2 separate regions of the Homo sapiens genome follow, and region 1 is linked to region 2. The links are contacts of gene promoters, found by promoter capture Hi-C in blood cells and fetal thymus (Javierre and others, 2016). All regions are on one chromosome and are shown on one strand. Each heading gives the region's core, a stretch centred on a gene start or on the middle of the fragment in contact. The rest is flanking DNA. Distances are from core to core; before and after follow the strand shown. Region 1 has its middle 29 kb from the start of CUL1. Region 2 holds the start of C7orf33 (chromosome 7 open reading frame 33).

Evidence for each region. The method cuts DNA at HindIII sites, captures the fragments that hold promoters and counts their contacts. A CHiCAGO score of 5 or more calls a contact.
Region 1: a fragment that was not itself captured here is called in contact with the fragment with the promoter of C7orf33 in region 2 in 9 of 17 cell types (activated CD4 T cells, M2 macrophages, naive CD4 T cells and 6 more); the score reaches 10.0 in activated CD4 T cells.

Annotation. Positions count from the first base shown.
Region 1 is chr7:148,667,349-148,672,712 of GRCh38, reverse strand. No RefSeq gene overlaps it. Among named protein-coding and RNA genes, the nearest start is that of CUL1, 29 kb to the left of the region's middle. The HindIII fragment of the contact is 5,093 bases long and covers 1-3,940 here.
Region 2 is chr7:148,589,263-148,594,237 of GRCh38, reverse strand. It overlaps C7orf33 (chromosome 7 open reading frame 33), which reads right to left and starts at 3,472. Exons shown (of 3, transcript NM_145304.4): 1 at 3,109-3,472. The coding sequence starts at 3,312. RefSeq lists a silencer at 115-315. The HindIII fragment of the contact is 1,806 bases long and covers 2,724-4,529 here.

The DNA.
Region 1 (5,364 bases), core at 145-2,644, 81 kb before region 2:
ACCTCCACCTCCTGGGCTCAAGAAGCAATCCTCCCACCTCAGCCTCCCAAGTAGCTGGGACTATAAGCACATGGCACCATGCCCAGCTAATTTTTTGTATTTTTTTTTTTTTGTACAGACGGGGTGTTGCCATGTTGCCCAGGCTGCACAATATTTTTATACTCCTCCATTTAAGAGGTGGAACCAAATTCCTTTTACTTTGAAAGTACACTAGACTTAGTGACTTGCTTCAAATAAGTAGAATAAAATGGAAGCAGGGATGTGAACCTTGGGATACTTGGGAGAACATACTGCCAAAAGGCAGTATGGTTTCTTCTTTGCTCACTTTCCCTTGGATTTCTCTCTCTGAGGGAAGTTAGCTGCCATGTTGTGAGGAGGTCCCCATGTGGTGAGAAACCAAGGCCTACAGTCATGTGAGGGTGGTAGATTCAGGAGGCAGATAAGGGAGCCTGCACAGGGTCTTGCCTGGGCATGCCCACAACAGACTGGAGGCCCACTTGCACTGGGGGAATGGGGTGGAGCCACCAGGAACTCATGCCTTATGCAGAGAGAGGAGCCTGGCCTCTCCAGCTCGTGTGTGGTGGCCTGGTATTCAGTCTGCGATGTGGCAGCCTGTTGGCAGGATCCCCTCTTTCTTTGCTGAGAGCTTTCTTTTCACCAAATAAATCTGCCTTCCTTAACCTTCGATGTTCCACATGCCTAATTTTTCCTGGTTCTGAGACAAGAACCCAGATTTTAGCTGAACTAAGGAGCAAAAAAATCCTGCATCAAGGGCACCATATTAGAAGTGGATCCTCCAGCCCCAGTCAAGCCTTCAGATGACTATAGCCCCTGCCGACCTCCTGCCCAAGACTGTAAGAGAGACCCTGAGCCAAAACCGCTCAGCTCAGCCATGTCCAAATTCCCAACCTACAGAAAACGTGAGATCATAAATATTTGCTGCTTTAAGCCACCAAGTTTTGGGGTAATTTGTTACATAGCAATAGATAACTAATACAGTCTTGGAAGTAACAAATATCTTTTCTGTGTCCACCAGGAGAAGATCACCCAGGGTAAAGCACCTTTCCATTAATATGCTACTCTAATATCTGACAAGACTGTAGAATTCATCAGACTTCTAATACCACATGGAACTGGGTCAGGGCTGGAGGGAGCATTTGAGGCCAGCCAATCCAAGAAAGGCTCTCATCCTTTCCCCCACTGTATCAGTTTCCTACTGCTACTGTAACAAATTACCATGCGTGTAGTGGCTTTAGATAACACAACTGTATTATTTTACTGTTCTGGAGGTCAGAAATCTACACTCTATCTGCAGGGCTATGATCTTTCTGAGGGCTTCAAGGGAGAATCCATTTCCTTGTCTTTTCCAACTTCTAGGGGCTGCCCACACTCCTTGGCTCACTGCCCTACATCACTTTGACCTCTGCCTCCAATATCACATCTTCTTTGACCCTCACGCTCCTGCCGTCCACTTAGAAGGAACTTTATGATTATTTGGGCCCACCCAGGCAATCTGGAATAATCTCAAGAGTGAAGATCCTTAGCTTAATCATATTTGCAAAGTCCCTTTTGCCATGTAAGGTAACATATTCCCAGGTCCAGGGATCAGCTATGGACATCTCTGAGTGGCCAGTTTTCTGCTACTGTGCTTACCATTGCTCACAGTTCAAAATGCAGAGCCAGCTGGCTCTCTGCTCTCTTCCGTTTGCAGAGCAGCACCACACCACCAACCCCTCTTTACTCTATCTGAGGGGCCTTCTGATTTCCTGTTTTCCCACATGCTCATCTGCTTTGGAGAGGGCCCTTCATAGTTCCTCGTTTTAACTGAAACCCGAATCTTCCCTAAGAACACGGCTTCCACTACACTTCTCTGAGAGCTGAGTTTTCAAACTCATGTGCTGTGCTGGCCACAGGACAGGAAGGATTTCTGTATCATCCTAATTTTGGATTGTCATTTCCAAGGCATTCATCTTTGCCCCTCATTCATGTCTTCTTCATTTAAGAATTATGCTACCTTCCTCGCTTACCACTGACATTTATCAACTACATCTATTATTTTTTGCTCCTTTCCAAAACTCAACATTTCTCTTCATCCTGCTATTTTCCTAGGGCACTGCAGAGTATATGAACATGACTCATCTCGTGCAGTGTCCTGAGCTCCTCTCAGCCTCAGCTCCAGTGACTTTACCTCCACGCTTATGATCATACTCTAAACCTTTCTTCATCATTGTCTAAAAGTCTTCCTCCTCTCAAAGTTTAAAGGGCAAGATTCCATTCTCTCATCACAACTTTCCTATCGTTCCAGCCATCCCATTCCTCATTCCTACAACACCCCATCACCACTAGCAATGACTCTAATACATAATATGTTTGTAACAGTTTAAAAAATTATTCCCTCCTCAAAAAAGTTAAGCATAGAATGACCGTATGATCTAGCAATTTGTCTTCTGGGTACATACTCAAAAGAACTGAAAGCTGGGATCTGAACAGATATTTGTACACCCAAGAAGCAGCATAATTTACAACAGCCAACAGAAAAAGCAACCCAGTGTCTGTCAACAGCTGAATGGATTAACAAAATGTGGCCTATCTATACAATGGAATATGAGTCAGCCTTACAAAGGAAGGAAATTCTGATGCGTGCTACAACAGATGAATCTTTAGGTTTAGGATATTATGTTAAATGAAATAAGCCAGATACAAAAGGACAAATACAGTATGATTTCACTTATATGAGGAATCTAGAATAGGCAAATTCACAGAAACAGAAAATAGAGGGCCAGGCGCAGTGGCTCACACCTCTAACCCCAGCATTTTGGGAGACTGAGGCAGGCAGATCACTTGAGGTCAGGAGTTCAAGACCAGCCTGGCCAACATTGTGAAACCCCGTCTCTACTAAAAATACAAAAATTAGCCAGGTATGGTGGTGCGTGCCTGTAATCGCAGCTACTCGGAAGGCTGAGGTGGCGGGATCGCTTGAACCTGTTAGGCAGAGATTGCAATGAGCTGAGATGGCGCCACTGTACTCCAGCCTGGGTAAAAGAGTGAGACTCTGTCAAATAAATAAATAAATAAATAAATAAATAAATAATTAAAAAAGGTAATAGAATGGTGGTTGCCAGGGGTTGGGGAAAGGGGGAGAATTGGGAGTTAGTATTTAATGAGTACGGAGTTTCAGTCTGGGAAGATGCAACAGTTCTGGACATGGATGGTGGTAATGGTTGAACAACAGTGTGAATATGCTTGATGCCACTGAACCGTATATCTAAAAATAACTAAAATGGTAAATTTTATGTTATATATTTTACCACAATAAAAAACTATCCCCATTTTTCAGGTGAGAAAATCAAGGCTGAGAGAGGCTAAATATCTTGCCCAAGATCCAATGAAGGTCATTTAATTTGCTAGTGTTTTCAAGTGGGAAATCAAGGCTCAGAGAGGTTAAATATCTAGCCAAAGAGCTGATGAAGGTCATCTACTTTGCCAGGGTCAGTGTTGGAGCTAGGATTTGGACCTGAGCAGTTCGACTCCAGAGCTCACACTCTTAATCACTATCCCATTAAGAATTACCAACACTCTGACTCTCACTTGTTTCTCATTGTATCGCCACCTTTCCAGTCTGCCTCTGCCCCTTGGAATTCTTAAATACCTCCACACTTCCAGCTATCCAGGCAAATGGGCTCCCATAGCCTGGGGTCAGCCCCAGGGCTTATAGGTGCAGGTGCTGGCTGTAGGCCGTGAACACTGAAATGGTGAAGGATCTGGGGGACTTGGCAGAGCATCGTGGGCACCTGCCCCACCTGTACGTCTTTGGACTGCTCTAGTTTCCCCTCTCCAGGGAGGCCTGTCCAAACCCTGCCACTCTTCTCAAAGCAGCCTTCCTCTCCTACCACTTTTCTCTCAGTAGATGATCTTCTACTTCCTTGGGAAAACTGAAGCTTCCAGTCTTGCCTCAGACATGTCTGTCTTCCTGTCCACTGATAATTCCTCCATCTGGGCTCCAGCTCTCATTCCCTTTTATCTCCACGCAGCTCCCATTCCACCCATGGTCCCCCTCTCTATTTTCTATGATCAACCTTTTGCTATCTGTTGTTTCTGCCTTTCTGTAAGTGTGTGTAAATGTACCCCATCTTAAAAACAAATAAACAGAAAGTCTGCCAGATGCGGTGGCTCATGCCTGTAATCCCAGCATTTTGGGAGGCCAAGGTAGGTGGATCATTTGAGGTCAGGAGTTCGAGACCAGCCTGGCCAACATGGTGAAACTCCATCTCTACTAAAAATACAAATTTTTAGTAGAAAAATGTGGGTATGGTGGTGCATTCCTGTAATACCAGCTACTCAGGAGGCTGAGGTAGGAGAATCGCTTGAACCCAGGAGGCAGAGGTTGCAGTGAGCCAAGATTGCACCACTGCATGCCAGCCTGGGCAATGAATGAGATGCTGTCTCAAAGAATAATAATAATAAATAAACAAATAAACAAAAAGTCAAAACCCCAAAAAGACAAATAGAAGAACCTACCTTGGCCCTGTGTTCTTCCTAGCTATTGTCTGCTTCAGAGCCACTGTCTCCCACGTACTCCTCAACCCTCCTCAGTTCAGTTTCTACCCCATCACTTCACTAAAACTGGTCTTCCTAACGTCCCCCCGAATCATAACATAGCATAACATAACATAACGTAACATAACATAACATAACATAACATAATGTAACATATTTGTATTAGTCCGTTTTCACACTGCTATAAAGGAAAACCCAAGGCTGGGTAATTTATAAAGAGGTTTACTTGACTCGTGTTTCCTCATGGCTGGGGAGGCCTCAGGAAACTTATGATCAATGTCAGAAGGGGAAGCAAGCACCTTCTTCAAAAGGCGGCAGGAGAGAGAGAGAGAGAGAGAGAGAGAGAGAGAGAGAGAAAGAGCGCGCGTGAGCAAAGGGGGAAGCCCCTTATAAAACCATTAGATCTCATGAGAACTCCCTCACTATCATGAGAACAACATGAACAGCATGGGGGAAACCACACCCATGATCCAATCACCTCCTACCAGGTCCCTTCTCCGCACATGGGTATTGCAATTTGAGATGAGATTTGGGTGGGGACACAGAGCCAAATTATATCAATAACATAACATATATAACATAACATACATAACACACCATAACACATAAACATAATATTTTAATTACCTAGAGGAGACTTCTCAGTCCAAACACTAGCTGATCTTTCTGAAGCTTTTCAGTTTCCCTTTGCCTCCTTCTTTAAATTCTTTCTTCCCTTCATCTTGGCAACACCATTCTTTCCTAAATCTCTGTATCCTCCAACTGCTCCTTAATACTTATTGTTTTCAGCTGTGCATGGTGGCTCAC
Region 2 (4,975 bases), core at 2,223-4,722:
TACCACTGCACTCCAGCCTGGGCGACAGAGCGAAGACTCTGTCTCAGAAAAAAAAAAAAAAAAAAAGAAAAGAGGTTTAATTGGCTCATGGTTCTGCAGGCTGTACAGGAAACATGGCGTCTGCTCGGCTTCTGGGGAGGCCTCAAGGAGCTTTCACTCATGACGGAAGGCAAAGTAGAAGCAGGCACATCGAACAGCAAAAGTGAGAGCAAGAAAGCAAGAGAAGGTGCCACACACTTAAACAACCCGATCTTGTGAGAACTCACTCACTATCGCAAGGACAGCACCAAGAGGATGGCGCTAAACTATTCATGACAAATCCACCCCCATGATCCAATCACCTCTCATTAGGCCCCACCTCCAACACTAGGGATCACATTCCAGCATGACACTTAGCCGGGCAAATATTCAACCATGTCACTTCTTTTCCAGCAGGCATCTCTCTGGGCTCTGACCCTTTCCTGTCAATCCCAGTTGGGAGTCTCCGTTTCTACAATCCCCTCCAAACAGGCTGTATCCCCCGACCCTGGCTTCATGCTCAGCCTTTCCTAAATGCATTAAACACCCAGTCAGAGGAAAAGCATTTTGACTTCAAATTAACATTTAAAATAAAAACTAACTTTAAAACATGTTATTATGAAGGCAATAGAGATTCTCTATTTAAAGAAATTCAGGCCAGTTGCAGTGGCTCACACCTGTAATCCCAGCACTTTGGGAGGCTGAGGCAAGCAGATGATTTGAGGTCAGGAGTTCGAGACCAGCCTGGCCAACATGGTGAAACCTCGACTCTACTAAAAATACAAAAAAATTAGCTGGGAGTGGTGGCAGGTGCCTGTAATTCCCGCTACTTGGGAGGCTAAGGCAGGAGAATTACTTGAATCCAGGAGGCGGATGTTGCAGTGAGCCAAGATTGAGCCATTGCACTCCAGCCTGGGTAACAAGAGCAAGACTCCATCTCAAAATGAATAACAAAAATAAAGAAATTCAGAACATTCTGAGCTTTGGAAAAATAATACGTAACTCATAGTGCCATCCATAGACAACCACTTTGAGACTTTGCTGTATCTTCCAGTGATCTAATTAGATTTAAATCGTGTCGGCCAGGCATGTTGGCTCATGCCTGTAATCCCAGGACTTTGGGAGGTGAGGTGGGTGGATCACTTGAGGTCAGCAGTTTAAGACCAGCCTGGTGAACATGATGAAACCCTGTATCTACTAAAAATACAAAAATTAGTAGGATGTGGTGGTGGGTGCCTGTAATCCCAGCTACTGGGGAGGGTGAGGCAGGAGAATCATTAGAACTCAGGAGGTGGACGTTGTAGTGAGCTGAGATCGTGCCATTGCACTTCAGCCTGGGTGACAAGAGTGAAACTCCATCTCAAAAAAACAATAATAAAAAAAAGATTTAAATCATATCTACCCTGCTGGGGCACAGTGGCTTCCACGTGAAATCCCAGCACTTTGGGAGGTTGAGGCAGGCAGGTCACCTGAGATCAGGAGTTTGAGACCAGCCTGGCCAACATGGTGAAACCCTGTCTCTACTAAAAATACAAAAATTAGCTGGGCATGGTGGCGTGCACCTGTAATCCCAGCTACTTGGGAGGCTGAGACAGGAGAATCGCTTGAACCCAGGAGGCAGAGGTTGTAGTGAGCCAAGATCACGCCACTGTACTCCAGCCTGGGCGACAGAGCTAGACTCCATCTCAAAAAAAAAAAAAAAATCCTATCTACCCTATATGCTCCACCCATGCACTTGTGGCATCCTTTAAAAGGAAGGTTTAGGCAGTGATAATCTTTTCTCACCTTCTTTTAAGCACATATACGTCATTGATTATCATTTATATTCATCATTCAGAGACTAATTGTATTGGTTCACATCAAAGTACCCCTGGCTGAGGAGGTATTTTCTTCTTTTTACTCTTCTTATGCTAAATGGGCTTTCCCTGACATGGGCTGTCTGCATCTGACCTTAGCAGCAGGCAGACACAACCCCCTTGCTGACCCTGCAGTTCATGCTGCTGTTCTCAGGGAAAGGTCATGAAATCCTCTCTGCCCTCGAATGACCAGAGTCATTCTTCATATCAGAAGATACTCTGAGCCTGTGGCATGTGTCAGTTTGGGGCACTGTGCCACAATGAGGGTGTGGGCAAATGGGAAGAAGCCAGGAACTGCAACATGGGAGAAAACAAATTAGGGCTGGAGAACTAGGTGGGGACACCTGTGGTTCCCATCAAACTGAACACCCAAAGCTGGAGATAAATACAAAGTGGGAGCTCATACTTTAACCAAAAATGCCTGCCTAGTGGGAGGCAGGGGCTTGGGGATCAGGAGGTGTCAAAGATCAAAGACAGGCAAAGAGTTAAGGATCCAGGTCTTGCTGGGCATGGGTGGCACTTCGGGATGTTGAAGTGGGAGGATCGTTTGAGGACAGGAGTTCAAGACCAGCCTGGGCAACATGGCAAGACCCCATTTCTACAAAAAATAAAAAAATTAGCTAAGCCTGATGGCACATGGCTGTAGTCCTAGCCACCCGGGAGGCTCCTCTGGGAGGATCACTTGAAGCCAGGAGGTTGATGCTGCAGTGAGCTATGATTGTGACACTGCACTCCAGCCTGGGTGACAGAGCAAGATACTATCTCTAAAACAACAACAACAACTCCTGGTCTTTAAAGCGAGAGAAGAGACAAGAATCTAGGCAAGGAGAAGGGAACAGGTGCAAAGCTTGTGCCAAAGGGTGACCAAGATAGAGGCTTCCTGTGGACCCATCTCCAGGGCAAAACATAGTCTGAGAACAAGCGCATTCCTTCTACCACACTGTGTGAAAATATACAATTTTTACGCTGGAATTTTTCAAATCAACATGACTCAGGCTAAACACAAGAATACTCAGTGGAGTGTTTTGTGAGGATTCTTTTCCCTAAGAAGATTCCAGGCCTTCTTTGGGGCAGTGAATTAATCTCTGTCTCTCTCTTTACTTCAATGTCGTTAAGCCCAGTTCCATAACACATAGTAGAGAGTCAAAAACATTCATGGATTGAGTGAATGAATTCTCAAGAGATACTGACTGACTCAAAGAGCAGTTGATTCATCTTAGAATCATTAACTTACCTTATGTCTTCCCGTGGCATATGACAAGTTAAATTGACCTGGACCGCCCCTAACGTGGACCCAAACAGCGACTGCCCTCCCACTCAGGCGAAGGTCAATCCGGCGCCTTGCCCCACTGGGCAGGAGGGCTTCACATTCACATTGGGGGCCTGGAAGTCTCCAGGGACACTCTTCAAGGCTGAGGCTTTGAACTTCCACTTGCATTTTGGCAAAGGTAATTACCTTTCCTGGATGCTGTCAAGGAGAGCGGCGCTTCACCACCAATATCTAAGATCAAGTCGCACGGATCCCCAGGGTCAGTAGGAGGATTCAGACACAGGCTGGGCGCCTCGCTCCTGACCACTGGATTGGCATCACCATAAGTAAGGTCACAGCTGAGTAGAAAATGCCTGAGGCAAAGTGGGGGTGAAAGAGGGGCCACCGAGCAGTGTGATAGGCAGCCCCTTCCGCCAGCTCATTATCCCCACCTGCTCCTGTCGTCTCCTATTAGAATCCTAATGCGAGTTTACGGAAAGTCAGCTGGAGCTTGTCCTCCATGTAATTCAGATCACGTTGCCTGCAGCTCTTAGGTACTCAAATAAACAGAAGGACTAATATTACTACTGAAAAAGTAATTAAGGGCATTCATTGTAAAGTAATAATGATTACCTCACCCTCACCATATGGCCAGAACTGATTAACACCTAGAAGAAATGATCTAAAACCTCTACAATCAGAATTAATGTCTCAGGTCATAATGAGAAACATTTTGTAGCGGGGTTTGGCAGGGAAGGATGAAAAAGTGGTTGGGAGTTTACTAAATCAAGAGGCACAAACAAAATATTGAGGATAACATCCTTTTTCAGGATTTTTCATCTCATTCAGATTAGACAAGTTGCATTTTTAGTGTAGAACCCATATCACAAATGCAAAAAATATTACAAGATTTACACATTGGAATTGTCACTTAATTGGATGAGTTTTTCCTCCATTGTTTCTTTTATAATGATGAGGAATTGATGGAAGAATCTCCATCGAGGCTGGCAGTTTCTTAAATCACCAGGGAAGGGCTTAGCCCACTGATTGAAAATCTTCTTATCGTAAATTACTGGTTAAAATGCTATTTGTTGTCAGGAGTATCATGGAGTGTGATTTAATCTCTTAAGATTAGTTAAAGTGGTAGAAATGTTAGCATTTCTGGGTAATGCCAAACAGGTTAGCATTACAAAAGATGCCTAGAAAGATACGGACCCATTTGGAAGACAAGGTTGCTGTAAAAGCCAGTTTGCAGGTGCACCGTGGGGGGTGACAGGATGCCCTGGGCTGTTCTTGATTAGTGCGTGTGCCCTAGGGTCATGTGGTGAAGCATAAGGAAGCAGAATTTGGGATATTTTTCCCACCAGAATCCCTAAGATTACTCTGTGTACTGCTGGGGAAAAGCTTAATGGGCTCAACACCACCCTTGAGGGAAGGCAATAATGGAATCTCTTTTTTCTGCAAATACTTCCTTGGGTGGTGCATCATGATTCCCTGAGGCAGGATTTCCTGCAGCAGAGCTGGAGGGGCTGGAGGGGCTGGTGGGGCTGGTGGGGCTGGTGGGGCTGGAGGGGCCAGAGGGGCTGGTGGGGCTGGTGAGTCTAGAGGTGCTGGAGTTCCAAGAACTTGGCCTGGAATCTTGAACCTGCAGCCATACATTCGGACTCTAGCTTTGCCTTTTTACTTATCTGTCTTTGACCACTAAAGAAATAGACAGACCTCATAATATTATTTCCTCGACTGCCTCTTAAAAGTCAAAACCTTAAGTTAAGGACACCTCACATTTTGGTCAAGACCAGTGGACCTAGGTAAGAGTAAATCAGAGAATTCCCAAGGTGGAAGAAGTTATTCC